2 separate regions of the Homo sapiens genome follow, and region 2 is linked to region 1. Evidence: promoter capture Hi-C in human tissues and cell types (Jung and others, 2019). All regions are on one chromosome and are shown on one strand. Each heading gives the region's core, a stretch centred on a gene start or on the middle of the fragment in contact. The rest is flanking DNA. Distances are from core to core; before and after follow the strand shown.

Region 1 (7,742 bases), core at 95-2,594:
ATCATCCCACCTGGAGCTGCCCTGAGACGCGGCTGCTCCCCACCTGCCTGGAGACTCAGGGAGACTCAGGGAACTCCAAGCAATTCTGTGAATTTCTCACCTGGGACCAGGAGCTCCAGGAGATCACTGGGTAGAGACCACACATAGGGAGAGTTCGAGTCATAAGCATAGCACCTGTACGACCACCTGCGACTCGGGCTCACGGGGCCCACGGAGAAGATGGCCCAGGACCACCCACGGGCATGGGAATGGGAGTTCAGGCGTTGTGGGTGTTCATCTTCTCCTTCCTTACACAGAATGAAGCCGTCAAATGCCACCTGTGAGACACACTGGAGGGTCACGTTCCCTCCTGAGGTCACCACAGGGCTGGGCAGAGCTGAGAGGGTGGGTTTGCTGTAGGCTCCTAGGAGAGAAGGAGGCACTGTGTTAAATGGGGCTCCCACCTCCCACATCATCCCCAGGGTTGAGCTGTGAGAGCGGAGATGCCCCTGAGAGCCGACCCCCTTCCTGAGGGCAGAGCCTGGGGCTGGGACTCCTGAGTGTCCTCTCACCTGTCACCACCAGCTCCAGGGGGTCACTGTACTCTGATGAGTGATTGTGGCTGTAGTACTGACAGTGATACCGCCCTGCGTGTTCCCAGGTGATGGATGGGATGGGGAACTGGCCATTCTTCCCAGGCTCTTGTATCCGTCTAACCCAGGATGCTGATTTGTTTTCCCTATATAGATGGTACTCCTCAGCCTGAAGGCTCCCCTGACACCTGAGGGTCACAGGACTTCCCTGGATGATCACAGAGCCTGGCTCAGCCCAGAGGGTGGGCTTGGGGAGGTGCCCTGGAAGGAAATCAGAGGTCGGATTCTAAGTCATTTCCCACCCAACAGATCTCAGCTCTCAGCTGCAGGACCCTCCAGACACCCCCATCAGTCAGCCCAGAACTGCTATTCCCCATCCCCAGCTGCACGGGGGTGGCCCCTTGTCCCTAGTGAGGAGGAGGGACCTGGGACAGCTGGGAACAGACTCACCTGCCTGCACGTGGGTCCTGGGGCCCAGACTCAGCCCTGGAAGAGAGTTCCCTGTGAGGGATTTTTCCCCTGAAGCCTGGGCAGGTCCTCCCCTCCCTGGGATCTTTGTGAGCCCCTGGGGTCTCCTTAGGGACCAGAGTTTGGCTGTGGGGTGAGGTCCCTCCTAGGTTAGAAGCTCCCCTCCCTCTTCAAATCTCACCGAGACAGATCAGGACCGTGAGGATGGGGGTCATGGCGTCTCCTCCCACTGCCCTGCTCTGCGGATGGATGAGCCCTCAGTGCTGGCAGGACAGAGAGACGCACAGGGTGTGGACACTCGGAGGCTGGATCCTTCTTGTCATGGGGTTTTGTTATGTGCAACCACACAGGAAGTGCAACTGCCCTCTCAGGAGCCTGGCTGTCATACCTTTAGGGCTGAGGTGGGGGCAGGCACCAGGCCCTCTGCAGACATTTCAGACTGTAATGGGGTCTTTCCTGCCCCCCAGCCACTGTCTGTCTGGTTTATCCTCATCTCCTTGAGACCTGGGATGTAGCAGCAAATAGAACTGGTGCCCTCCTGCGTCTGCCCTTCCAGATGAGGGTGAGCAGAGGCTTCCTCTTCCTTCTCAGAGCTTCCCCATGGGGTCTCCCTCCCTCCTTCAGCCCGTCCATCAGCTCAGCGTTGCGGGGTCCTTACCATGGCGGTCGTCCCTCCAGCCCTGGAGATGCTTCAGGGAAAACCCAGGTCCATGCTGCAGTTAGACTCAGATCAGCAGAGACGCACCTGACACCTGGCTGTGTAGCTCAGGTTGAGCTGCGTGTGGCAGTGAGCACAGAGGAGTAATGCAGGGTCTACCATGGTGGCTCATGCCTGGAATCCCAGCACTTCAGGAGGCTGAGGTGGGTGAAGGCTAGAGGCCAGGAGCTTCAGATTACCCTGGGCCACATAGCAAGACCTTGTCTGTATAAAAAAAGCAAAAAATTAGCCAGGCATGGCAGCTCACATCTCTAGTCCCAGCTACTCAGGAGGCTGAGGTGGGAGGAATACTTCGGCCTGGGAGGCGGAGGCTGCAGGGAGCTATGATCACCCCTTAGCATTCCAGCCTCAGTGACAGAGTGAGACCCTGTCTCAAAAGGGGAAATGCAGGGATTAACTATAATAAAACATATTTGTTCTGTCTTGAGAGTGTGTGTTTCCTTCCTACCAAACCGTCCCTCTCCTGTACTTCCCCTTTTCTCTTTGTTGCAACATCACCCACCCCCACCCCGGGAATGAGGCTCTGAGTCGGTCCCGCCCCCTCAGTGTCCCTTGCGTCCTTGGCCTTCCCTCGGCACCTCCGTCCATGTTCAGAGTTTTCAGAAGAATTTGTTAGGTCTGTAATCTGATTCTGGGGAAGGTGAGCTGATTTGTATTTAATTCCTGATTATCATCCAGGGTTTATGTGACTTTGGACATGAATGTCACCTCTGAGCCTGCTGTCGTGAACCCCACTCATCACAGTGGCTGTGGGGGTCAGTGGTGCCCAGGACATGGGAGGCTCAGCCATGGTGAATTTCCAGACCAGTTCAGACAGGAGGGTGGGGACGGGAGAGGATCCTGGTGCTGGGCTCCACAGTCCAGGAGGATGATTGACGCCCCCACTCAAGAGCCCACATCGGCTCCAAATACCATGAAATTCTCCTTGTGATACATCTGAAATATGCAGATCATCACAGCCACGGGCACAGAAAGAGGAAGAACAGTTCCTCACATTGAGACGCATCCCCTTCCATGAGCAGAGTTCAATGCTGAGTGGCCACAGGTGTCTGGGACCACCCAGGGTCATTAGGGAGGAGGAGGCTCCCACCTCCGTGTGGGACAGAAGAGGAACCCCACGTCCTCCCAGGCAGGGAGGGGTCAGGGCTCTGGGTGACGCTGGAAGCTGTGGCTCCCCCTCCCCTGTGTGTGTGGACAGGCGCTGGGGGGTCTCTGCTCACTCACTGGAGGCCATGGTCAGTGCTCAGCCCCTCCCCTGTGTGTGAGAAACAGATTCAATCCACGGTGGTCTGACATGGGCGTCTGCTCTGCCCCACAGGTGAGTGTGAGACTGGCGTTGGTCCCATCCCTGCTGGGCACAATCTTGAGCTGACACTGAGTTTGGGGGAGTGGGGAGGAGCAGCGGCAACAATCCCCTTCATCAGGCTGATGCCTGGACAGCCGTGGGAGAAACCCTTTATGAAAGGTCAGGTGCGTGGGAGGAGCCGCCCCACAGGAATGACAACCAAGATACATGAGGAAAACACAGACAGTTGTTGAAATGCATTAGACAGACATTGTGAAGGTGAATTAATTTTTATATTAATTTATATATTATATAAAAGAGTCCCAAGCCCTTCTCAGCCTTTTCCCCTGCTATCATTGCTACCGAAACTTTGGGGCTTCTGTCTCCACCCTCAGGTGCCCCCCTCTTCCTGTCACAGAAGTTTTCTTCCTGGACATCAGCAGCTGGGCTGGACCCGGGGAAGGACATGGGAGTGTGAGGGCCAGTGAGGAGGTTGTGGGGGTAGGTGGGCGTCTGGGGTCTTCGGGCAGAATTACCTCCTCCACAGGCCTCTGTCGTTCTCTGACTCCACAGTCCCCACAGGACTTTGGAAATCAGCCTCCCTCTGGGCTGGGTGAAGAGGGACAGAGCTTCAGCCTTGGGATCATGAGAGCCACCTGCCCTGCACAGAGAACTCAAGAGAAAAGAAGGAAAGCTGAAAACACACTTGCATAGATGTTTTAAAAACGTCGTTAGATGAAACAACCAAAAGAATAAGGTATGTTCATGTATGTTCACATTTATTCTCTTCTTTCTAGGTTTTCTCACTGGGAAATGCTGGAGCCGTTTTTCTGAGCTGAACTTTCCCATCTGGAATCTGTCTGGTTGGTGGTGCCCTGACCCCACCTTCAGTCAGCCCATGGGTCTCCCCGCCAACTTCCTACTCACCCAATGTCCTGTGTTGGCCCTGAGGCCAGTGTCAGAGGAGAAAGAAGAGGAGGAAGAGCACCAGCTGAAGGCCACTGAGACCCCGATCACAACCCCCAGGTGCTTTCCCAGACCCTGAGGTAGGACTGTGAAGGTGTACTGATGCCCTTGCCAAATGAAAGGAAACTGTTCCTGATGGTTCTTATTAACAGTGATGGAGAAAAAAATATTTAACACATCAATGGCTGAATACTGGGTATCAGGGGATGTATTAATTTGCTCAAACTACAAAACCACATCTGTTACAACATCTTCAATTGGATCTGATTAAGCTTACAATAATCTAATATCATTATCCAAGATCCCTGCGTCTTCTGTGGAGGTAAAATAGGAGAGGTGAATGGCAAGGTTGTGGGAATCACTGTCTCTGCACGCTTCAAGTCCCAATATATGGAATTCCTCCAGGAATGCAAGACTGCTTTTGGTTTACAGTTTAGCTGGGAAGAGGCAGTTCTAGTGGCTCCCACTGGGCCCACTCTAATAACCCTCACTCAACAAGTGAGGGAACCACTGTGGGGGTTGTGATAGTTGTTGAATATGTCTATTCCAATGTTGCCCTCTGGAACTGGGGATACAGCCACAGGGTGGGTTTAGGGATACACTGGATTCACTATGGAACACGTGAGCTCAAACTCCACCAATCACCTTGCCTCTAGCAGCCACTACTCTGACTGGAGGGCCACAGTGACGTTTCGGGTCTCCTGGAATTAATGTCAGTTCATACCCCATTTCCAGTAATGCCCAAATTATCTGATTATTTTCCCCAAGGCTCCATTGCCATTGTAAAAGGCTGCAGGTCCCTTTAACCAAAGTCCAGGAGAAAGATTAAGAGTATATATTCTTGGTAGTGTACCAGGGACAGTGCCCTCACGGGAACCCTGCCTGGGATCCCTTTAATTCAGGGGATTCTGGCTCTATGAACTGACTCAGTGCTAGCCATTGATTGAGAGACTGTGGCTCTCTGCTTTTATGATTTGGGTTGACTTTTGTTCACTTGACATAGAAATTTTCTGCTTATACAGATCAAGTGAGAATTTAGTAGGTTTCCTATCTATCTCCCTTGTTAGAATGCCGTGATCAACTAGCCAACACCATAAGTCTGCGGGACTATTCCGATCGCTGGTTTGACTTTGCTGTCCATCATGGTAACCAAACCCACCTTGCCTTTGGTGGCTGAGTTCCTCTACTTGGCCCCTGTCTCTCTGGGGGCCAAGAGGTAGGGGCCAAATTACTCCCATTACATTTAGATTTTTTAAAATTCAGCAGTTCCACTGTAGGTTCCAGCTTCCAGAGAAGAGAAATCACAGAGCTCCTCAAGGATGCCAGAGCTCCCTTTGCAATATTGTTGAAAGATACATCTTCTGATGCTTCCAATGTGGGTTACTAGGTTTGATACATGCATGGTAACATTACAGTCTTCCTAAGCCTTTAAGTTAATTCCTCTGCAGCAAACCAAGGCATGTCTGGCATTTTGAGTTTATTTACTGCAGGCCAGCTTTTGCTCCATGTTTCAGCCAATCAACCAGACAAACTGGTAGAATCATTTCCGGTTCTCCAAGATGCAACATTAAATGTGCAATCTCTGTTTAGTGAGCTTATATATATAAATTCGGTCCGACTCAACTTTATGTTCTTTTCACCATTATCCTAAACCCTTAATATCCACTCTGACACGTGTTCCTCAGACTTCTGTATGGATAAATTAGAAAAATAAATAAATTACTTTGGAGTGTAGCACAACTTCTCATGAGCCACACTTTGTAACACACTTTTCAGGGCCTGCGAGACTTGAATCTAGTTATAGGTCTAGAAGCAAAGAGGGTTGGTCAGGATGTATCCTAAGGAGAATCAGCATAGCCTTGCATGGCAACTGCCTCAGGGGAGGCCAGTATTGTTTCCTCAGACAGTACAGGGTTAATCTCCTCCCTTGCAGATAGAGAGGATGCTTCTATTGGCAAAGAAGACTCATTCAAAGTTAGGGGCTTGATATCCTCAGCTGTATCAGGGTCTTAATATACATCCTCATTCCATCTTTCAAGATCTCACCCATTCCTGACCAATGGCATTACTTGAACAGTAGATACCCTGTGAGGCTGGGGACTCCGCTTGAATTGTAATACAGCCACTTCAAGGATGAGATTCTCGGTTTGATTTTCAGCAATCTCACCCCTACAGCTACAGATGATAAGAGTCTCTTTCAGGGCACACATAGAAACCTCAGATATTTATGTAGTGGTGCTTGAACTGGAAATTCTAATCTCTGGGCTCATCTTTTTCTTTACCTCTTTATCCAATGACAAAACAGCCACACATACTATACTTAATAGTTTGACAACAATCTTCAAAGGTGTATGCAAGGCCACCCAGATTCTCGTTCCTTATAAGTGTAGGATTAGGAGCATCTAGTGGTGTACCCCTAATGCCACATCATGCCACGGACTATCACAGACTTCCTTCCTTCCTTCTTCCTTCCTTCCTTTCTTCCTTTCTCTTTCTTTCTCTTTCTGTTTCTGTCATACTGTCTTAATGTCTTTAAATCTAATCAGACAGCCAGTTCCATAAACCTCAGAAACAGTAGACAAAACATATTAAGATTCAGTTCATCTAGAATCATTCCTATGATCAAATTATGTATTTGTAAGTGTTCTCCAGAGAAACAGAACCGATATATGTACATATGTGCATATCTATATCTACTTATCTTGCTATCTAGGAATGGGTTCATGTAATTGTTGGCACTTGGTGAGTCCAAAATCTGCAGGACAAACAGCCTGAAGACTTGGGGAAGAGTTTCAGCTCCAGTCAGCCAAACAACCTGCTTGCAAAATTTTTTACTATTCTGTGGAGCACATTACTTCTTTTCCTTCTCACAATGCACTTATTATCTTTTAACACAATGCATACTCTATCTATTATTTATTGTGTGTAATGTCCACTTTTCTTGACTACAATATTGACTTAATACAGGCAGGCTCTTTGGAAGTTTTCATGTCCTTTATTCTGAGACATCTCATACACCATGTTTGACACAGATCAGATACTTCACATGTGCCTATGGAAACAGGGAATAAAAGTTTCTCCACTCCTGCCAAGTTCATTTCTATCACAGAGACAATTTGTTCCAACTTGATTCTTTTCTTCTCCCTTCCAGGCAGCCTTTTGTACAAAGTTCTCAGAATAGAAAAAGAATAACATTCAGGAGGCAAGACCCCAAGGTTGGGAAGAAACACATCCAGACTCATTGCCTCCTCCTTCATCTCAGTTCTTAGACATCAGGGTCCTCATCTGATATCTTATTTCCATGTGGTTTCTCCAAGAATTTCAGAGATGTTTCTTTCTTTCTTTCTTTCTTTCTTTCTTTCTTTCTTTCTTTCTTTCTTTCTTTCTTTCTCTTTTTCTTTCTTTCTCTTTCTTTCTTTTTCTTCCTTCCTTCCTTCCTTTCTCTTTCTCTCTCTCTCTCTGTTTCTGTCATACTGTCTTTATCTTTTTTCTGTCTCTCTTTCTCTCTATCTCTTTCTATCTCTGTTTCTGTCTCTTGCTCTCTTTTTCTCAGTTGAATGGATCTAATCACTACTATTAGCTCTCAGTCATTTGAACATTTCAAAAATGTTTTTCTGAGAGCATCTCAAATCCCCATGCAAATACTGTCAGTGTACTCACAGATGATATAATAATTACCTGTCAGCAAGAAGATGACCTCATGGTGTCCCAAACCTTTATATCAGGGATAAGA
Region 2 (7,742 bases), core at 5,078-7,577, 330 kb before region 1:
GGCACACGCCACCACGCCTGGCTAATTTTTTTGTATTTTTAGTAGAGATGGGATTTCGCCATGTTGGCCAGACTGGTCTTGAACTCCCGACCTCAGATGATCTGCCCGCCTCGGCCTCCCAAAGGGCTGAGATTACAGGTGTGAGCTACTGCGCCTGGCCAAGGACACCCTCTTGTTCCCATTTAGATTCCCTTCCTAGGTCTACTCTATGCCCAGCCCCTTCCTTCAGAGCCTATGGCCCCAGCTGTCTACTTACCTTTCTGGAGTCCCGTCTCTGTGGTTAAAAGGTAGGTGCCCCAAGTGTCTGCTGATGATAAGGGAAGTGAAGAAAAGAGGATGGTTTTGACCTCCTCCACCCCAGCACTCCTTCCCTTGGGTCTACCCCATGACGTTCTGCAGCTTTACAAGGTCCCACCTCACCCTGCGGGTCCCAGGAGCTTCATCCAGCAGGTAAAGTGGAAGGGTCCACAGATGGACGAACCTGACGAGGAATTCCATTCTAGCACTTGTGAGCATGTGTCTTTGCACCAGTCATGTCTTCTATTTTTTTTTTTTTTGAGATAGAGTCTCACTGTGTTCCAGCCTCTGGAGTAGCTGGGACTACAGGCACACACCACATACCCAGGTAATTTTTTTCATATTTTTAGTAGAAACGGGGTTTTGCCATGTTGGCCAGGCTGGTCTTGAACTCCCAACCTCAGATGACCTGCCTGCTTCGGCCTCCCAAAGGGCTGGGATGGCAGGCCTCTGAGGCTGGAGTACAGTGGTGTGATCTCAGCTCACTGCAACCTCCGCCTCCCGAGTTCAAGCAATCCTCTTGCTTCAGCCCCGAGTAGCTGTAATTACTGGCGTGCGCCACCACACCCAACTCATGTTTGTATTTTTAGTAGAGATGGGGTTTCACTGTGTTGGCCAGGCTGGTCTTGAACTCCTGACCTCAAGTGATCCAGCCGCCCCTGCCTTCCAAAGTGCTGGGATTACATGCAGGAGCCACCCGGCCCAGCCCGTCTTCTATTTAAGCCTCATTTTCCTCATTAAGTCATCATTACCTCTTTCTCCTCACACATAGTGAAATTCAAAGTCTCACTATTTTTTTTTCTTTTTCTTTTTCTTTTTCTTTTTTTTTGAGACGGAGTCTCACTCTGTCGCCCAGGCTGGAGTGCAGTGGCGCGATCTCAGCTCACTGCAAGCTCCGTCTCCCGGGTTCACGCCATTCTCCTGCCTCAGCCTCTTGCGTAGCTGGGACTACAGGCGCCCGCCACCACGCCCGGATAATTTTTGTATTTTTTTTTAGTAGAGACAGGGTTTCACCGTGTTAGCCAGGATGGTCTTGATCTCCTGACCTCATGATCCACCTGCCTCGGTTTCCCAAAGTGCTGGGATTACAGGCGTGAGCCACCGCGCCGGGCCTCACTCCTGTAATCCTAGCCGTGCGCCCCAGGCCCATCCCACCGTCATCTTCCAAACATCATTTTCAACCCTCCTGGCCTCATAGTTATTATTGTATTACCCCAGTTATCTTCCTGCCCCAGGGCACAGGCAGATGCCATTTCATTCTCTCCAGAGCCTCCTTTCTCCTGACAGCCACATGATTAACTCAAGTCTGAACGCATTTGCTCAGATGCCTTCTTTCTCTGTGAGGTCCATCTGGACAAACCTATTTAATATTGCTAGCTGCCATTTCAATCACTGTAAGTCTGTTCTACTTTGTCTTTTCCTTCCATAGCATCATTCCCTCCTGTGTGCTATCCTGACGTTGACCGATGGTGTGTCTCCTCCTGCTAGAATCTAAGTGCTGCACAGTCAAGATATCTGCCTGGCTGACTGTTACAGTGTAGTTCACTGTGTATACTATGCACTTGATGAATATATATATATAATAGTTTTGTTTTTGTTTTTCTGTGAGATGGAGTCTCGCTGTGTCGTGCAGTGGAGTGGAATGCAGTGGCGCGATCTCAGCTCACTGCAACCTCTGCATCCCAGGTTCAACAATTCTCCTGCCTCAGCCTCCTGAGTAGCTGGGATTACAGGCGAGCACCACCAGGCCCGGCTAATTTTTGTATTTTTAGTAGAGATGGGGTTTCACCATGTTGGTCAGGCTGGTCTCGAATTCCTGACCTTGTGATCCAACCACCTTGGCCTCCCGAAGTGTTGGGATTACAGGTGTGAGCCATGATGCCCAGCCTAAGTTTTGTATTTTTAGTAGAGACAGGGTTTCGCCATGTTGGCCAGGCTGGTCTCAAACTCCTGACCTCAAATGATGCACCATCTCGGCCTCCCAAAGTGCTGGGATTACAGGCGTGAGCCACCACGCCTGGCCTCGATGAATATTTTGAATGAATGCCACGTTTTTAGTGTCACTGGGAGGCTCTGATCGCTCGTCTGAGCTTAGAAGGACCAGTTACTCACCAGGAAAGGTGGGGTCTTCAGGTGCAAGGCTGGTGTTCTCAATGTCGCCTGGAAAAGGAGATAAAGAAAAAAAAGTAAGGGTTTTTGGTTTCCTCCGGTCTTGCCATTCTTTTTTTTTTTTTTTTTTTTTTGAGATGGAGTCTTGCTCTGTCGCCCAGGTTGCAGTGCGGTGGTATGATCTCGGTTCACTACAACCCCCGCCTCCCGGGTTCAAGCGATTCTCCTGCCTCAGCCTCCTGAGTAGCTGGGACTACAGGTGTCCGCCACTGCGTCTGGCTAATTTCTGTATTTTTAGTAGAGACGGGGTTTCACCGTCTTGGCCAGGCTGGTCTCGAACTCCTGACCTTGTGATCCACCCGCCTTACCATTCCTTTCTCTGTTCCCTCCTCCTTCCTGCTTCTGGTGTTCTTCCTCACATGACCAACCAGGCACCCAGGAAGTGGACGTCCCTTGGACACCCTCCCCATCACTCTCTGGGGATCCCTCAGGGCTCCAGGTAGCACATGGCGGCGAAGGGTGTGGGGAATTGAGCATTTCCTCACCTGTGACCAGGAGCTTCACTGGCTCACTGGGGAAAGACCAGGCATGGTTGTTATAGGAGCCAAAACATCGGTATGTCCCTCTGTGGGCTGTGGTCACAGGGCCCAGGGGGAACTCCGCCTGGACCTTCCCGTATCCGCGCTGTACGTGGCTGGATCTTCCCTCCTTGAGCAGTAAGAACATGCTTGTTGCAGTGTCTAGACGGCAGTAGAAGGTCACCTTCTCTCCCGAGATCACTTCGGGTCCAGGATGAACCGAGAGGGTGGGTGTGTCATACATTTCTATGAGAGAAGGTGGGGCCACCACACCAGAAACTCAGTGATGAGCAGCCAGCTATTTTTTTTTTTCTTTCTTTAGAGATGGAGTCTCTCTCTGTCGCCCAGGCTGGAGTGCAGTGACACGATCTTGGCTCACTGCAACCTCCGCCTCCCGGGTTCAAGCGTTTCTCCTGCCTCACCCTCCCAAGTAGCTGGGACTACAGGGGCCTGCCACCATGCCTGGCAGCCAGCTTTTTTTTTTTTTTTTAATTATTATTTTGGTCAAATACACACAATAGAAGATTTACCGTCTAAAACCATTTTTAAAAATGATACAGGGTCTTGCTCTGTTTCCCAGGCTGGAGCGCCGTGGCACTATCTTTGCTTACTGAAGCCTCGACCTCCTGGGTCAGGAGTTTGAGACCAGCCTGGTCAACATGGTGAAACCCCGTCTCTACTAAAAATGCAAAAATTAGCCGGGTGTGGTGGCACATGCCTGTAATCTCAACTACTTGGGAGGCTGAGGCAGGAGAATTGAGGCTGAGGCAGAGGTTGCAGTGAGCTGAGATTGTACCACTGCACTGCAGCGAGACTGTCTCAAAAAAAAAAAAAAAAGCCCCGGCCAGCCGCCCCGTCCGGGAGGTTGGGGGGCAGCCCCCGCCCGGCCACTGCCCCGTCTGGGAGGTGGGGGGGCGCCTCTGCCCGGCCGCCCCGTCTGGGAAGTGAGGAGCCCCTCTGCCCGGCCGCCACCCCGTCTGGGAGGTGTACCCAACAGCTCATTGAGAACGGGCCATGATGACGATGGCGGTTTTGTCGAATAGAAAAAGGGGAAATGTGGGGAAAAGAAAGAGAGATCAGATTGTTACTGTGTCTGTGTAGAAAGAAGTAGACATAGGAGACTCCATTTTGTTCTGTACTAAGACAAATTCTTCTGCTTTGGGATGCTGTTAATCTATGACCTTACCCCCAACCCCGTGCTCTCTGAAACATGTGCTGTGTCCACTCAGGGTTAAATGGATTAAGGGCGGTGCAAGATGTGCTTTGTTAAACAGATGCTTGAAGGCAGCATGCTCCTTAAGAGTCATCACCACTCCCTAATCTCAAGTACCCAGGGACACAAACACTGCGGAAGGCCGCAGGGACCTCTGCCTAGGAAAGCCAGAGACCTTTGTTCACATGTTTATCTGCTGACCTTCTCTCCACTATTGTCCTATGACCCTGCCAAATCCCCCTCTCCGAGAAACACCCAAGAATGATCAATAAATACTAAAAAAATTAAAAAAAAAAGAATAAATGAGTAGCTGTGTTCCCCTGCCAGAACCTCCAAACAAGGTCCAAAGACCCTGAGCAAATGAAAAGGCACAGACAAAAAATATATATATTTCAACACAAGTATATGACACAGAATATAGAAATAACTTTTCCTAATCAATCAAAATATAAGCAACCCAATTTAAAAATAGGCAAAAGATTTAAATAGACATTTCACAAAAGAAGATATTTGAATGGACATGAAATACTGTTGTGAGCTGCATAATGACATTTTGGCCAACAATGTACCACATATATGATGGTGGTCCCATAAGATTATAATGAAACTGAAAAATTCCTATTGCCTGATGACATCATAGCCTTCCTAGCACAAAGTATTGCTCATGTGTTTTTGGTGTTGCTGGTATAAACAAACCTAATTGTATAGCACATACAATTATGTATGTATATGTAACTATGTATAATACTTGATAATAATAATAAACAACCATATTGTTAAAAAAAAAAAAAAGCTAATTTTTTTTTTTTTTTAGAAAACCACCACCTGGCTGGGTGTGATGGCTCACACCTGTAATCCCAGCACTTTGGGAGGGTGAGGCGGGCGGATCATCTGAGGTCAGGAGTTCGACACCACCCTGGCCAACATGGTGAAACCCCATCTCTACTAAAAATACAAAATGTGGCGTAGTGGTGGGTGCCTGTGATCCCAGCTACTTGGGAAGCTGAGGCTGGAGAATCACTTGAACCCAGGAGGTGGAGGTTGCAGTGACTGGAGATTGCACCACTGCACTCCAGCCTGGGTGACAAGAGCGAAACTCCGTCTCAAAACAGATAAAAAAAAAAAAAACCCACCACCTGTGATGGGTGAGGGAAGCAAAGTGTAAGCCACTGCGCCTGGCCCACAGGCATTGTTTTTGAGGACATTCCTCAGTCATACCCCTGCATACAAATATCTATCTCAGAATCTGTGTCATGGAGAAACTGACTGAGGACACATCTGCTCCTAGGACGTAGAGACACGGTCTGCAGACAACCCCTTGTAGGCAAGGATTGTGATGGGGATCACCCCTCCTTCCAGCCTCCTACCGAGACAAGCAGTGTCTGAGTGGGGCTTGGAAGAGTTCATAGATGATGCTGCATCCCGGATGCAGACTGAGATCACTCTCCAGTTAGAGAACCGGACAGTTACCTGTTACCACCAGATCCAGCAAGTTGCTGGGCTCTGACCAGAGCTCCCCAACCCGATAGATGCAGCTGTATTGCCCTGCCATGCGGGAGTTCATGTCCGGGATGTAGAATTGGACTTTGTTAATCCGCTCAGGGGGTTTTGGTCTGTCCACGGCAAAAAGGCTTCCTTCAAAGTGCAGCTGGTATTCAACAGCCCCATAATTTCCCTGGCAACAGATGGTCACTTGCTTTTCCTTTGGAACCATGAAATGGGGCTCGGCCCAGATGAACGGTTTTGGGAGAGTCTCTGGAAGGGAATCAGAGGCTGGAGTTCCAGCGGAGCCCCCTCCCCCCAACCTTAGGCTCCACCCAGCTGCTGGCCCCAAGCTCTCCTGGGAAGCCAGCACCCTGTCCCCTCACCCCAGCCGTGCTTGGGTGGAAGGAGCTTGGCCTGAATCCGGAAGAGTGACCCTGGGCTTTGAAGGAAGGACTCACGCTGCTGGGCGCTGATCCTCTGACTCAGACACAGCCCTGGAAGACGGGAGTAATGAGACCTGTTGCCTCCCAGGCACACCGTGATCCCATTCCCCTTCCACGCCAGAACTCACCGACGCAGAGCAGGGCAGGGAGTGTGGAAGACATCGCTCAGATTCTGCCGGCCTAGTGCTGAGCAGTGGGGACTGAGCCGGGCGGGCCAGGGAGATAGATACACAGGAAGTGGTGGGTGAGCACCAGCGCCCATCACCAGAGCGCTTTCACGTTGACTGCTTTCATCAGAACGTTCACAACTCCCCTCCGCCTCTGACCATGAGCTTACAGAAAGGCCGTGGTCCCTCTGACACATCTGTGGTCTAGCCAGCAACTCTGACAATTGTCTGCTCAGCCCAAAATGCATTTCTGGGTCAACTTCTCAATTCTGCAATGTGGAGGTCGTACCCAGAGCTGACTGTGGGAAGTTGTGCCCAATCATGCCCAGAGGAAACCCCCTGAGAATCGTATAAAAACATAGGGAGTTTCACAGTGAGATACTGGAACAGGAATTAAAAGAAATTACAGAATGTGTAAACAAAAACTCAGTTGTATTTAAGAAAACCCAGTTCCCCCCGAGGAAGAGAAAGAGGTGGAGTCCTTTAAACATGAACTGCCTGTTTTTCTGTCTGTGGCTAGTGAGCCTTATCTCTCCCTTTCCCAGGCATTGTGAAGACCCTGTTTCTCTTGCCGTGCGGCTGCAAGGTCACTAGACAGGATAACCTCAAGTCGTAAAACATATTTTTCTTGAAAAGTAAGGAATAATGTGATGCATGTCTCAATTGAATAACTGCCTTTGTTTCTTGCTTCTGTAATATGCTTCCCCCTGCACAGATCTCCCCCAACCCCACAAAATGCTTAAAAGGTAACCGGACTCTCTGTTCGAGCCTCAGTCTTTTTGGATGTTAATCTGACTGGGGCCGGTGCACCTAAATAATAATAATAATAATAAATCCTCCTCAACCCCTCGGTCTCTCTGATTCCTAAATTATCCCTCAACAATACCATCTCACACCAGTCAGAATGGCCATTACTGAAAAGCCAGAAATTAACAGATGCTGGTGAGATTGTGGAGCAAAGGGGACACTTATACACTGTTGGTGGGTGTAAATTAGTTCAGCCACTGTGGAAAGCAGTTTGGTTTGGAGATATTTCAGAGAACTACAAACAGAGTTACCATTCAGCCCAGCAATCCCATCGCTGGGTATATAGCCAAAGGAAAATAAATCATTCTACCAAAAAGACACATGCACTTGTATGTTCATTGCAGCAGGATTCACAATAGTGAAGACATGGAATCCACCCAGGTCCCATCAGAGGTGGACTGGATAAAGACAATGTGATATGTATACACCACAGAACGCTATACAGCCTTGAAAAATCACAAGATTATGTCCTTTGCAGCAACATGGATGCAGCTAGAGGCCATTATCCTAAGCGAGTTAACACAGAAACAGAAAACCAAATACTGGCCAGACACGGTGGCTCAGGCCTGTCATCCCAGCACTTTGGGAGGCTGAGGCAGGTGGATCACCTTAGGTCGGGAGTTCGAGACCAGCCTGACCAACA

The links. The method cuts DNA at HindIII sites, captures the fragments that hold promoters and counts their contacts. A contact is called where the count stands out against the background at its distance.
Region 2: a contact is called between the fragment with the promoter of NCR1 here and the fragment with the promoter of LILRA2 in region 1, in 1 of the 25 tissues and cell types used here (adrenal gland).

Annotation. Positions count from the first base shown.
Region 1 is chr19:54,567,392-54,575,133 of GRCh38, reverse strand. It overlaps LILRA2 (leukocyte immunoglobulin like receptor A2), which reads right to left and starts at 1,344. Exons shown (of 8, transcript NM_001130917.3): 1 at 1,222-1,344; 2 at 1,023-1,058; 3 at 552-833; 4 at 101-403. The coding sequence starts at 1,255. LOC107985347 (a long non-coding RNA gene) reads left to right here and starts at 2,306. Exons shown (of 2, transcript XR_002958419.2): 1 at 2,306-2,398; 2 at 3,841-5,743. It overlaps LOC105372461 (a long non-coding RNA gene), which reads right to left. Exons shown (of 3, transcript XR_936073.3): 3 at 3,422-3,716. The HindIII fragment of the contact is 16,909 bases long and covers 1-7,742 here.
Region 2 is chr19:54,904,733-54,912,474 of GRCh38, reverse strand. It overlaps NCR1 (natural cytotoxicity triggering receptor 1), which reads right to left and starts at 6,327. Exons shown (of 7, transcript NM_004829.7): 1 at 6,254-6,327; 2 at 6,141-6,176; 3 at 5,668-5,952; 4 at 2,952-3,230; 5 at 2,410-2,457; 6 at 257-307. The coding sequence starts at 6,287. The HindIII fragment of the contact is 21,719 bases long and covers 1-7,742 here.